3 separate regions of the Homo sapiens genome follow, and all the other regions are linked to region 2. Evidence: promoter capture Hi-C in 16 types of primary human blood cells and fetal thymus (Javierre and others, 2016). All regions are on one chromosome and are shown on one strand. Each heading gives the region's core, a stretch centred on a gene start or on the middle of the fragment in contact. The rest is flanking DNA. Distances are from core to core; before and after follow the strand shown. Region 1 holds the start of ME3 (malic enzyme 3). Region 2 holds the start of TMEM126A (transmembrane protein 126A). Region 3 holds the start of FZD4 (frizzled class receptor 4).

What was found. The method cuts DNA at HindIII sites, captures the fragments that hold promoters and counts their contacts. A CHiCAGO score of 5 or more calls a contact.
Region 1: a contact is called between the fragment with the promoter of ME3 here and the fragment with the promoter of TMEM126A in region 2, in 4 of 17 cell types (M2 macrophages, fetal thymus, M1 macrophages and 1 more). The highest score is 10.5, in M2 macrophages.
Region 3: a contact is called between the fragment with the promoter of FZD4 here and the fragment with the promoter of TMEM126A in region 2, in 2 of 17 cell types (M0 macrophages and M1 macrophages). The highest score is 8.7, in M0 macrophages.

The regions. Positions count from the first base shown.
Region 1 is chr11:86,670,894-86,673,940 of GRCh38, forward strand. ME3 (malic enzyme 3) reads right to left here and starts at 1,723. Exons shown (of 15, transcript NM_001161586.3): 1 at 1,431-1,723; 2 at 869-1,065. The coding sequence starts at 1,051. The HindIII fragment of the contact is 7,449 bases long and covers 1-2,606 here.
Region 2 is chr11:85,646,692-85,649,675 of GRCh38, forward strand. TMEM126A (transmembrane protein 126A) reads left to right here and starts at 1,276. Exons shown (of 5, transcript NM_032273.4): 1 at 1,276-1,398. RefSeq lists enhancers at 1,037-1,086, 1,257-1,526. The HindIII fragment of the contact is 2,186 bases long and covers 1,197-2,984 here.
Region 3 is chr11:86,953,738-86,956,844 of GRCh38, forward strand. FZD4 (frizzled class receptor 4) reads right to left here and starts at 1,658. Exons shown (of 2, transcript NM_012193.4): 1 at 1,064-1,658. The coding sequence starts at 1,348. It overlaps FZD4-DT (FZD4 divergent transcript), which reads left to right and starts at 1,884. Exons shown (of 3, transcript NR_038905.1): 1 at 1,884-1,975. RefSeq lists silencers at 1,336-1,385, 1,516-1,885, 2,236-2,385. The HindIII fragment of the contact is 4,830 bases long and covers 1-3,107 here.

The sequences.
Region 1 (3,047 bases), core at 473-2,972, 1.0 Mb after region 2:
ATTTTAGGCTGGAGAAAGTTGGGCCTCAGATAAGTTAAATGAGATATGTGAGTTAATTTGAGGAGGTAGGGGGAGACAGGACTAAATCTGTCCTTGCTTCTATTTCTCTCACCCAATCCTCTGAACCAAAGATACTAAACTCTATTCCCAAAAACAAATACAAAAGAGCTAGCGGTGGGTTGAACTCGACCAAAGCATTGGAGATCTGGATTCCAGTGGCAGAGCCAGAACTAACTAGCTGGTGACCTTGGGCAAGTTTCCTTTGTCTTGTTTTTTGTAAAAGAAGAGGTTTAAACTAGGATCTCTAATGCTCCTGCAAGCTCGAAAATTTCTATAAGTCTAGACTTTTCCATCCTTGCTCTCAAATTAATCTTTTTCTCAGAATAATAATCATAACCTTATTTATTCTCCCACTGGGTACCAGGCACTGTTCTAACGTACCCCCATTTTCTACCCGCATTTTCTCTTTAGATCTCACGACATTCCTAAGACAATTATATCTCTTTTACAGATAAGGAAACCTAGGCTCATGTAGGTTAAATGAACTGCCCAAGACCAATAAAATTAGTAAGCATCAAGGGGAGAGCTGACCGCAGGTCAGACTGACCGCGAGGATCTAAACCTGGTCTGTGTTGTTACTGCAGAAGAAATTAGGCTCCCTGCATTACTGGTCGCCTCTCTCCACGCATAAAAGGGAGAGGAGGGACAAGAAAGCCAAACCAAGTCACAACAAGCCCCTGCAAGGCAAAAACAGAAAAACCGCTGGAAGGGCGCCCGGGAGGATCCTTTCTGGGTCCAGGGGGCGGGGCGCAATTTTCCGGCAGCCACGGGATCGCAACGCGGGCCGTCCTGCCCTCTGGCCCATTACCTTGTTGAGATGAGGGTTCCTGGTGACATCGTATCCGCGCTTCTTCAGGGGCACAGGGCGCGCCGGGCCAGGCTTGGAGTGGCAGCCTTGGGCGGGCGCGGTGGGTGTCCAGCGCGGGAGGGCGCCGCAGGCCCGGCCCGGCCAGGGAGCCAGCCGCGTGCCTGTCCCCAGCGCGGCACCCATGGTCCTTGGCAGACCTGGCACGGGAGAGAAAGCAAGGTCAGGGCCTCCTTCCAGCCAGCCAGGACCCACGCGCGCTGCGGGGCACCGGGCCTGATCCGGGGACGCGCCCTCTGGGAGAGGGCAGGTGCTCCCAAAGGGTTAAATGTTCCAGCCCCCGCCACTCCTCGGCTGCCACCTGCTCGGCTCCGCGCGGGGCGCCAGGCCTAGCCAAGAGCCAGGCAAAGCGAAACCAAGCCCTGGAAGCAGATCCGGTGCGGGTGACAGCCGGCGCCACCCCTGCCCCCATCCCTGTGAAAAAGAGGCGACTGCGCGGCGAGGGGTCCCCGTACCCCTAATCCCGCGTGGTGGCTTGCCTCGGTCCTCTCCTTCCCTGGCCCACCTGCGCTGCTCGGGGAGCTGAGGTCTACGCGGTCCCGCTGCGGAGCAGGCGGGGTGAGGAGCTGCGGTCTGTGAGTCCTCTCCCGCCAATGGGTGGACCGCGCTGGCGGCCGCGAGCTCGCGGAGCTGGTGAGTTCCTCAAAGAGCGGTCCCACAACCTTTGTTCTCAGTGCCTGGCTTCCCCTGAGGACGCGCGTGGGGCGCCTCAGCACTGCGTGCACGTGGTTTTCCCCAGTGACAAGAAGCAGCTCAGAATGCCCGCCTGAGACTCTCCATCTTGGCAAGACTAAATGCACAGAGGGGGATTTGCGTTTGGGGGTCAGCATATCCTCGCACTCTCCCAACATTCGGGGAAGGGCGTGCCTTCAGGATTTGGAGTAGAAATCCTCAGGCATTCGGTGCTCAGTGTTGCCTTGTGCTGTCCAATATAATAGCCATTCGCCACGTGTGGCTATATAAACGTAAATAAATTAGTCTATATAGAATAAAATTTAACATCCAGTTCTGCAGTCACGCTAGCCACATTTCCAGTTCAAGAGCCACTTGTATGCAGATACAGAACATTTCTGTTTTTGCGGATACTTCTATTAAGCATCATTGACATAGGAGCCACAGTTACTAAGAGGACTTCTGAGGACCCCATGGAGTTTGCCATGGGTTATTGGGGCCAGACAGGGATCTTGGGGTCCATCTAGCCCCAAACTTAATTTTATACTTTCTCCACACAGTAGTCAGGAGATTCCTTTTAAAGCAAACACTTTGTTGTGTGTGGAATAAAATCCAAACTTTCAGGGCCTACAAGATTTCCCATAAACTGGCTCTTGCCAGCCTCTTCAGACTTATCCTACTCTACTCTTTCCTTCTCACTGATCTCTGGCCATACTTGATCCTTCCTGTGTCTTCACCCCACTTGGTTCCCTCCCACTGCAGGGCCTTTGCACTTGCTATTGCCTCTCCTTGGAAGGCTCATACTCCAGCCTTGCAAACCACTACTTCATTCCCACCTCTCAGTTCTCCACTAAGTTGTCAACTCGAAGGCCTTTCCTCTATCCCATTCAATGTCAGCCTGCACTAGGAACTATAGAGTGAAGGGGTTTTTCTCTTTAGAGAACTTAACACAGTCAGTAGCGCGCTTGTTTTTCTGATTGTTTACTGACTATCTCCTGTCTAGAATGTAAGCTTCATGAAGAGAGGCTCTTTGCCTGTGAACCTGTGTGTCCTCACTGCCTAGCTCACTGCCTGGTATGTAGTTGCACAATAAATAGTTGTTAGGTGAAGGGAAGTGGCAGCCACTTTCATAAGGATCGTGAACCCTTAGACTTACTGACAGACAGTTGGCACGGTCCTCTGCTGACACCCCTTCAAAGCTCCCGGTGCCAGCATTAGCCCCGTTGTAAGTACCAAGCAGACATCATGGCCCATAATGTGCTAAGGGGTGCTCCTGCCTGAGTTCAGGATTCCCTCATCCCTTCAGGAATAATCGTCTCCTCCTGCAGTCTCTCTCCTCCCTGTGTAATATCTAATTTTCAACTTGAATGATCTACGTAAAATAGTTATTTCCAAAACAGAATTACAATTACCTGGTAGGAAATAAGGATGGGGCAAAAATACAGCTTTC
Region 2 (2,984 bases), core at 26-2,525:
CTGATCAGCTGGGCGTGGTGGCACACGCCTGTAATCCCAGCTACTCTGGAGGCTGAAGCAGGAGAATCGCTTGAACCTGGAAGGCAGAAGTTGCAATGAGCTGAGATCAGGCCATTGCACTCCAGCCTGGCCGACGAGAGCAAAACTCTGTCTAAAAAATAAAAAATAAAAATAAAAAAAAGACTAGGAATTTTCCTTCTTGTACACCTTCGTGAAAATAAGTCTTTCTATTTGTGCAAGTTTAGAAACTGCAATTACAGACTTCTTGGCACTATGGAGCCTAATGGTCAAGCAACCCTGCAATGGAGAGACAGTATAAAAATTATCTGGACAATGCAACACTTTATCACTTGTTCAGAAATTTGAGAGGATGAGAATAATTAAGATTTCTGATAATGTGTTATGATCATGTATTTATTGCTACAGTTAGTTATATATTTTTTGGCACAATGTTTACCTGCTAATCTTAATGGAGTTAAGATAAAATTCAATTGTAGGCATTTTTCCCTTCTATTGGGTTAATTAGTCCAAGCGAACTGAGCAAAGGTTGCAGGGAGCCCCAGCATGGCTGAGGAAGACCTGGTGAGGCATCCACTGGCTGCTGGGAGGAGAGCATTAGAGGTACCTTCTGAACAGCACTGTCCAATAGAAATATAATGCAAGCCACATATATAATTCTAAATTTTCTAGTATTTATACTTAAAAAGCAAGAAGAAATAAGATGACTTTCACCCAACACTGCTTCCAAATAAGCAGTACTCTGGAGAACACGAGAAATCCTCAGAAAAATAAGCTGCAGCTCTGAGGTGCTGATTATGGTAGGGCAATCAATACAGATCAAAACATGGCACAGGGAGCTTAAGTTCCTAGGGAGAGTAGAAAATCGATAGAGCCAAGAAATAGCTCACCTTTGACTTATTTTTAACCTGAGTAGCTATCATATGCCAAGAGCTGTGCAGTTTTCATTTACCCCATGCCAAGAACGTAAGTAGGCTCTACTGACCAGGAAGTTAAGTAATATGCCCGAGGTACGTTTTCAATGGAAGAGGCTGACTGAGGGTCACCCAACTTATATCTCGAAATTTCACAATTTCTACAAGTTCTGTCCTGGGAGGCAAGAGTAGGTGAAACGAGCACACTCTACGCCAGGCAAACAAACCTCAACGCTTAGCCTCCCGGCACCTCCTAGGGCCGGAAGCTTCTCAGCCCAAAGCCGCTGCTGGCTGCAACCTCCGTCCCGCAGTCCAATTAGCAGCCGCGACCCGGCGCCCGCCCACGCCGCGTCACGAGTCAGCCAAAGATGGCTGCGCCCAGGTAATTTGAGCAAAGGCCACAGTGAACTCCGGCGTGGCTGAGGAAGGAGGAGGCACCCACAGGCTGCTGGGAGGAGAGCATAAGGTACTGGTATTCCGGGGGAGGGGGTGAAGTAAATGTCCCGGTGTCAGGAGAAGCACGACGCGGTGACACGCTAGCTACCAGCAGCGCTGCGCGTAAATGAGAGCAAGTAGAAGTGTAGTTAGCTCTTCCTGCTGTCTTTTCACTTTGCACTCTAGAAGGAAAGACCTTATATTTAAATTAACTCAGTAGAAAGGAGAAATGCCTGAGATTGAATTTAATCCCAGGTTTACTGTCAATTTACAAGGTGACCACGGCCAAATTTGATTTTCAGAGGTCCCACTTTACTTCTCTTTCAGATAGGCCCCACACTGCCTATCTCTCAGAGCTCTTCCAAGAATGACATGAGATAGGTAACACAAAAATCTTTCGAAATATTTGTAGTTTTTACAGGCGGCGTTGTCTTTGATAGATATTTGTTATTAATATCGGAGACAAAATGCCCACAGGGGCTGCCCAGTCAGCACTTATACTGAATTGAGTGACTTAATTGCCCTCAGTACAATATATACATACTAAATTTGATTATATATTTCACCACCCCATACACAAAATCATTCAGAGCTCCTGTACAGCAGAGATTGTGTCTTATCATCTTATCGTAGCCAAGGCCCTCAAAAATTTGACTACCAGAAACCTAGACATAAATTTCTAAGGCTGCTTTGTACTTATTAGGTTAGCTTTAAGTCTAGAGATATGGAATGTCAAGGTAATCAACATTTCCAAATGACCTCTTATCGATATAAAACAGGTAGCAATAAATATTTAAACGAGTGCCTGTAATGTTGTAGGAAATGAGAAAATCTGGTTTCATAAAAGCATGTTTTCCTTTGTTGTTATCCCTGAACTGTTTTTTTTTTTTTTTTTGTAGACCGAGTCTCGCTCTCACCCAGGCTGGAGTGCAGTGGCGAGATCTCGGCACACTGCAACCTCCACCTCCCAGGTTCAAGCGATTCTCCTGCCTCAGCCTCCCGAGTAGCTGGGATTACAGGCAGCTGCCGCCGTGCCTGGCTAATTTTTGTATTTTTAAAAGACAGGGAGTTTCACCATGTTGGCCAGGCTGGTCTCGAACTCCTGACCTCAGGTGATCCGTCTGCCTTGGCCTCCCAAGGTGCTGGGATTACAGGCGTGAGCCACTGCATCCAGCCTTTGTTTTTCTTAACTGTTACCCTGAAACCTGAGCCAAATCTTCATCATTCACCATTCCCTTCACATTTTCACCCTAACTAGTGCAGACATCAACAAACTACTGGCATGTAGGCCATATGCAGCCTATAGCTTGCCTTGGTACAGCCACCCAGCTAAGAATGATTTTTATGTTTTTATAGTTTTTTTAAAAACAAATATTCAACAAAGGCTGTATGTTACCTGCAAAGCCTACCACATTTACATCTGGCCCTTTAAAGTTTGCTGAGCCCTGATCTCAGGTATACCTAGAAATGAAATTGCTAGCTATGTGTGTCTTCTATCTGCTAAATAATACCAAATTCTTTCCCAAAGTGACTGTACAGTTTGGGTAAAGCTACCCCACAGAATGTACACAGAATGTAGTTTTAGCTACCCCGCATTCTTGCCAATAATTGGAATTG
Region 3 (3,107 bases), core at 408-2,907, 1.3 Mb after region 2:
TCCTGAGTAGCTGGGATTACAGGCGCACGCCACCACGCCCGGCTAATTTTTGTACTTTTAGTAGAGACAGGATTTCGCCATGTTGGTCAGGCTGGTCTCGAACTCCTAACCTCGTGAGCCACCTGCCTCGGCCTCCCAAAGTGCTGGGATTACAGGCGTGAGCCACTGCGCCCGGCCAGAAACCAGATTTCTGAAGCCTGGACAACTAACGTCTACTTTTTCCCACAACTTCTCTCTTTTCTAAATTTCTAAAAATCACCCAGCCTCACCAACCCAAACATAACCAATGTTAACACTTTAAAAATTTTCCTGTCAGTCTTTTATTATCCCAATAAATTTTTTATTTTGCAGGATTATAATCACCCTGTATATGCAAATTCTTATTACTGTGGAATAAACATTTTCTCTATCATTAGATATGCTTTACATTTTTTAATGACTGCAAAAAAATTTCTTCCAATATACCAACCACCTTCCTGCAGCTTCTTCTCACCCTCCAAGCATTAAACGTGCCTTCAACTGTGAGGATAAGAAAGAACTCAAGCCAACCCAACCACTCCTTCATGCATGACCTCTAAAACGCTGCGGGACGTCGTGAGAAGGGGCTATTCAGCAGAAAAAGGTGCAGTAGTGTTTCATTTAATAACACCCCAAAAATAGTGGGGAGAAGGAAGTTCGGTGAAGGATGGTCTCCTTATCACTCCCTCCAAGTCTTAGCTGCAGCTGGCTCCCTCCCACTCGCCCACCGAGCAGTGGCGGCCAGAATCCTTGGCAGAGATAACCCTCAGCTCCACTGGGGTTAGGGGTCTGGGCCAGACATGGGTGGGCAAGAGAGAAAAACGGAAGGGCGGGGTGTAAGAGTGGGTTCTTTCCCAGGCCAGATGACTTACACAACGTTTTGGCTTCCAGTCCCTGAGAAAGTGGGGGTGGGGATGGAAATCACTTTTCCAGGAGAGCTGTCTCCTTCGGGCTAGGATGATCAACTTGGCATGGGCTCTGCAAAGTTAGTTTGGAGCGTCCCTCCCCAAGGGGTCCCGCCAGGGGTGGGGGTGGGGGCGCCCACCTGCAGCTGGCTGGAGCAGCCGTACTGGATGAGCGGTGTGAAAGTTGTCAGCTGCAGCTCGGCGTCCGTCTGCAGCTCGTGCCCAACCAGGTTGGGCATCTTGGTCACGTTGTAGCCGAGGTTCTGGCACATGGAGATGCGGATGGGGTCGCAGCGCCGCTCTTCCTCGTCCCCGAAGCCCCGCGCCGGCCCCAGGAGCAGCAGCAACTGCAGGAGCAACCCCAGACTGAGACCGACGCCCCCGGGCGCCCCCGGGACGCTCGGCCCTGCGCCCCGCCAGGCCATGGCCAGCATCGGGGGTAGCAGCGGCAGCGGCTGGGGCTGCTCTGGCAGACACCCCCAGTTTGCACGGGGGCGCCGGCTGCCCGCGCTGCTCCCAGCTCCCGGGACGGGAGTGTGATGCGGCGACGAGGGGGCAGCGGCCGGCTCTCCAGCAGCTGCGCGCGACTGTGTGGGATTTTAGACGTCCCGGGCCGAGGCCGAGGGACAGGCTGCGAGGGTCATGGCTGCAGGCGGCGAGCCCACAAGCCGGCGCCGGCCGCGTCCGTTCGGCGTCTCCGCGAGGCCAGCCAGCAGCCAGCGCTGCGCAGCTCTCACCGCCGGAGCCCTGCGCGGCGCTGGAGGCTCGCGGCGCGGCGGCGGGGCGGGACGGACAGCGGGCCTCTCCAATGGCCGGGCGCGGTGGGCAGCTAGGGGCGAGGCGGCGGGGCGGGGCCGCTCTCCCGCAGGAGGAGTCAGGCCCCCGCCCTCCGGCCCCCTCCTCCGGCCGCCCCTCCCTCCCTCCCTCCCCTAGCGCCCCGCCCCGCCCGCCTCCCGGCTCTTGCTTTCCTCCCACCCGGATCTAGGCGCGCAGGGGCCAAGCAGGGACGCAGCCCAGTGGCTCCAGCCACGCCGTCCTGCCCCCTTCTGCAGGTGAGAAGTGCGCCCTGTTCCATCTGCCCCCTTTCCTTCCTGTCTCCTTTCAGCTGTAACCTAGGCCGGTGGCCACCTCCCCGTCAGGCAGAGAAACGTACACAAAGAATTGGGGATTTGGATTTACACCGATTGTGGCTTTCAGTCCCGGTTGTGTGACCTTGAGCAAATTGCTCAACCCCTCGGCGTCAGTCTCCTCTGTAAAGTCACTTGGGAGGATTAGAGATAAAGTGTAGAAGGCTTAGCATGGTGCCTGGTACTGCGTGAGTCCACAGCTATTTTCACTCCGGACCAGCGGCGATCGGGGCCCGGCCTCTCCCCGCCCCCAGACTCGCCCGACCTGCGCAGGGAGCCGCCCACCTCCAGCCGCCAGCGGGGAGGCGCCCCAGAGCTGCGGAGCTGCAGACCCGCCGACGGTCTCGCGCTCTGATTTCCTCACCGTATGAAATGAAATTCCACAGGGGGATTCGAAAGGAAATGAGACCGGGACTCTCCGTGCTTCTCGGCCCGCCGCCCTTCCTGTCTCGGGGACACGGTTTCTAAATAAGGTTGGGAGGGTGAGAGGGCGGGAGGGGAGAGGCTTGACCTGTGCACTGGGGACGAGGAAGGCGCACAACCACCGTGACTCCTCTCTCCCGGCCTCCCGGGCACCCCCTCCCCACCAGGCTGCACCCCTTTTTTTCTTTGCTTCTGCTTCGGCTCCTAGGGATCTGGGGATCATGTGACCCAGGTTTGAACCCAACTTTCCTGTCTCATTACCAGCCCCCCGCGGCTTTGTGCTGGTCCACCCTCTCTCTGCTTTCCAGTCGGCCAGTAAACTCCCAGCAGGTGGATTCCTCCACCGTTTACTTGTTGCTTGACTGTGTTGAAGCTATGGTGCCTCTCTGAGCCTCAAAGTGGCCGGCTGTAAAGTGGGGAAGTTCATATCCACCTCACACAGTTGTTCTAAGAGTTCAGTGAGATAATACCTGTAAATCATTTAGCAGTGTCTGACACATAATAAATGCTGAAGAACTTGGTGATTGGGGTGTGTGTGTGTGTGTGTGTGTGTGTGTGTGTGTGTGTATGTGTTTCCAAAACAGCTAGGGGAGATCAATTATGGGACAGCCTCCTGCTTTCCAGCCTGGTGCTA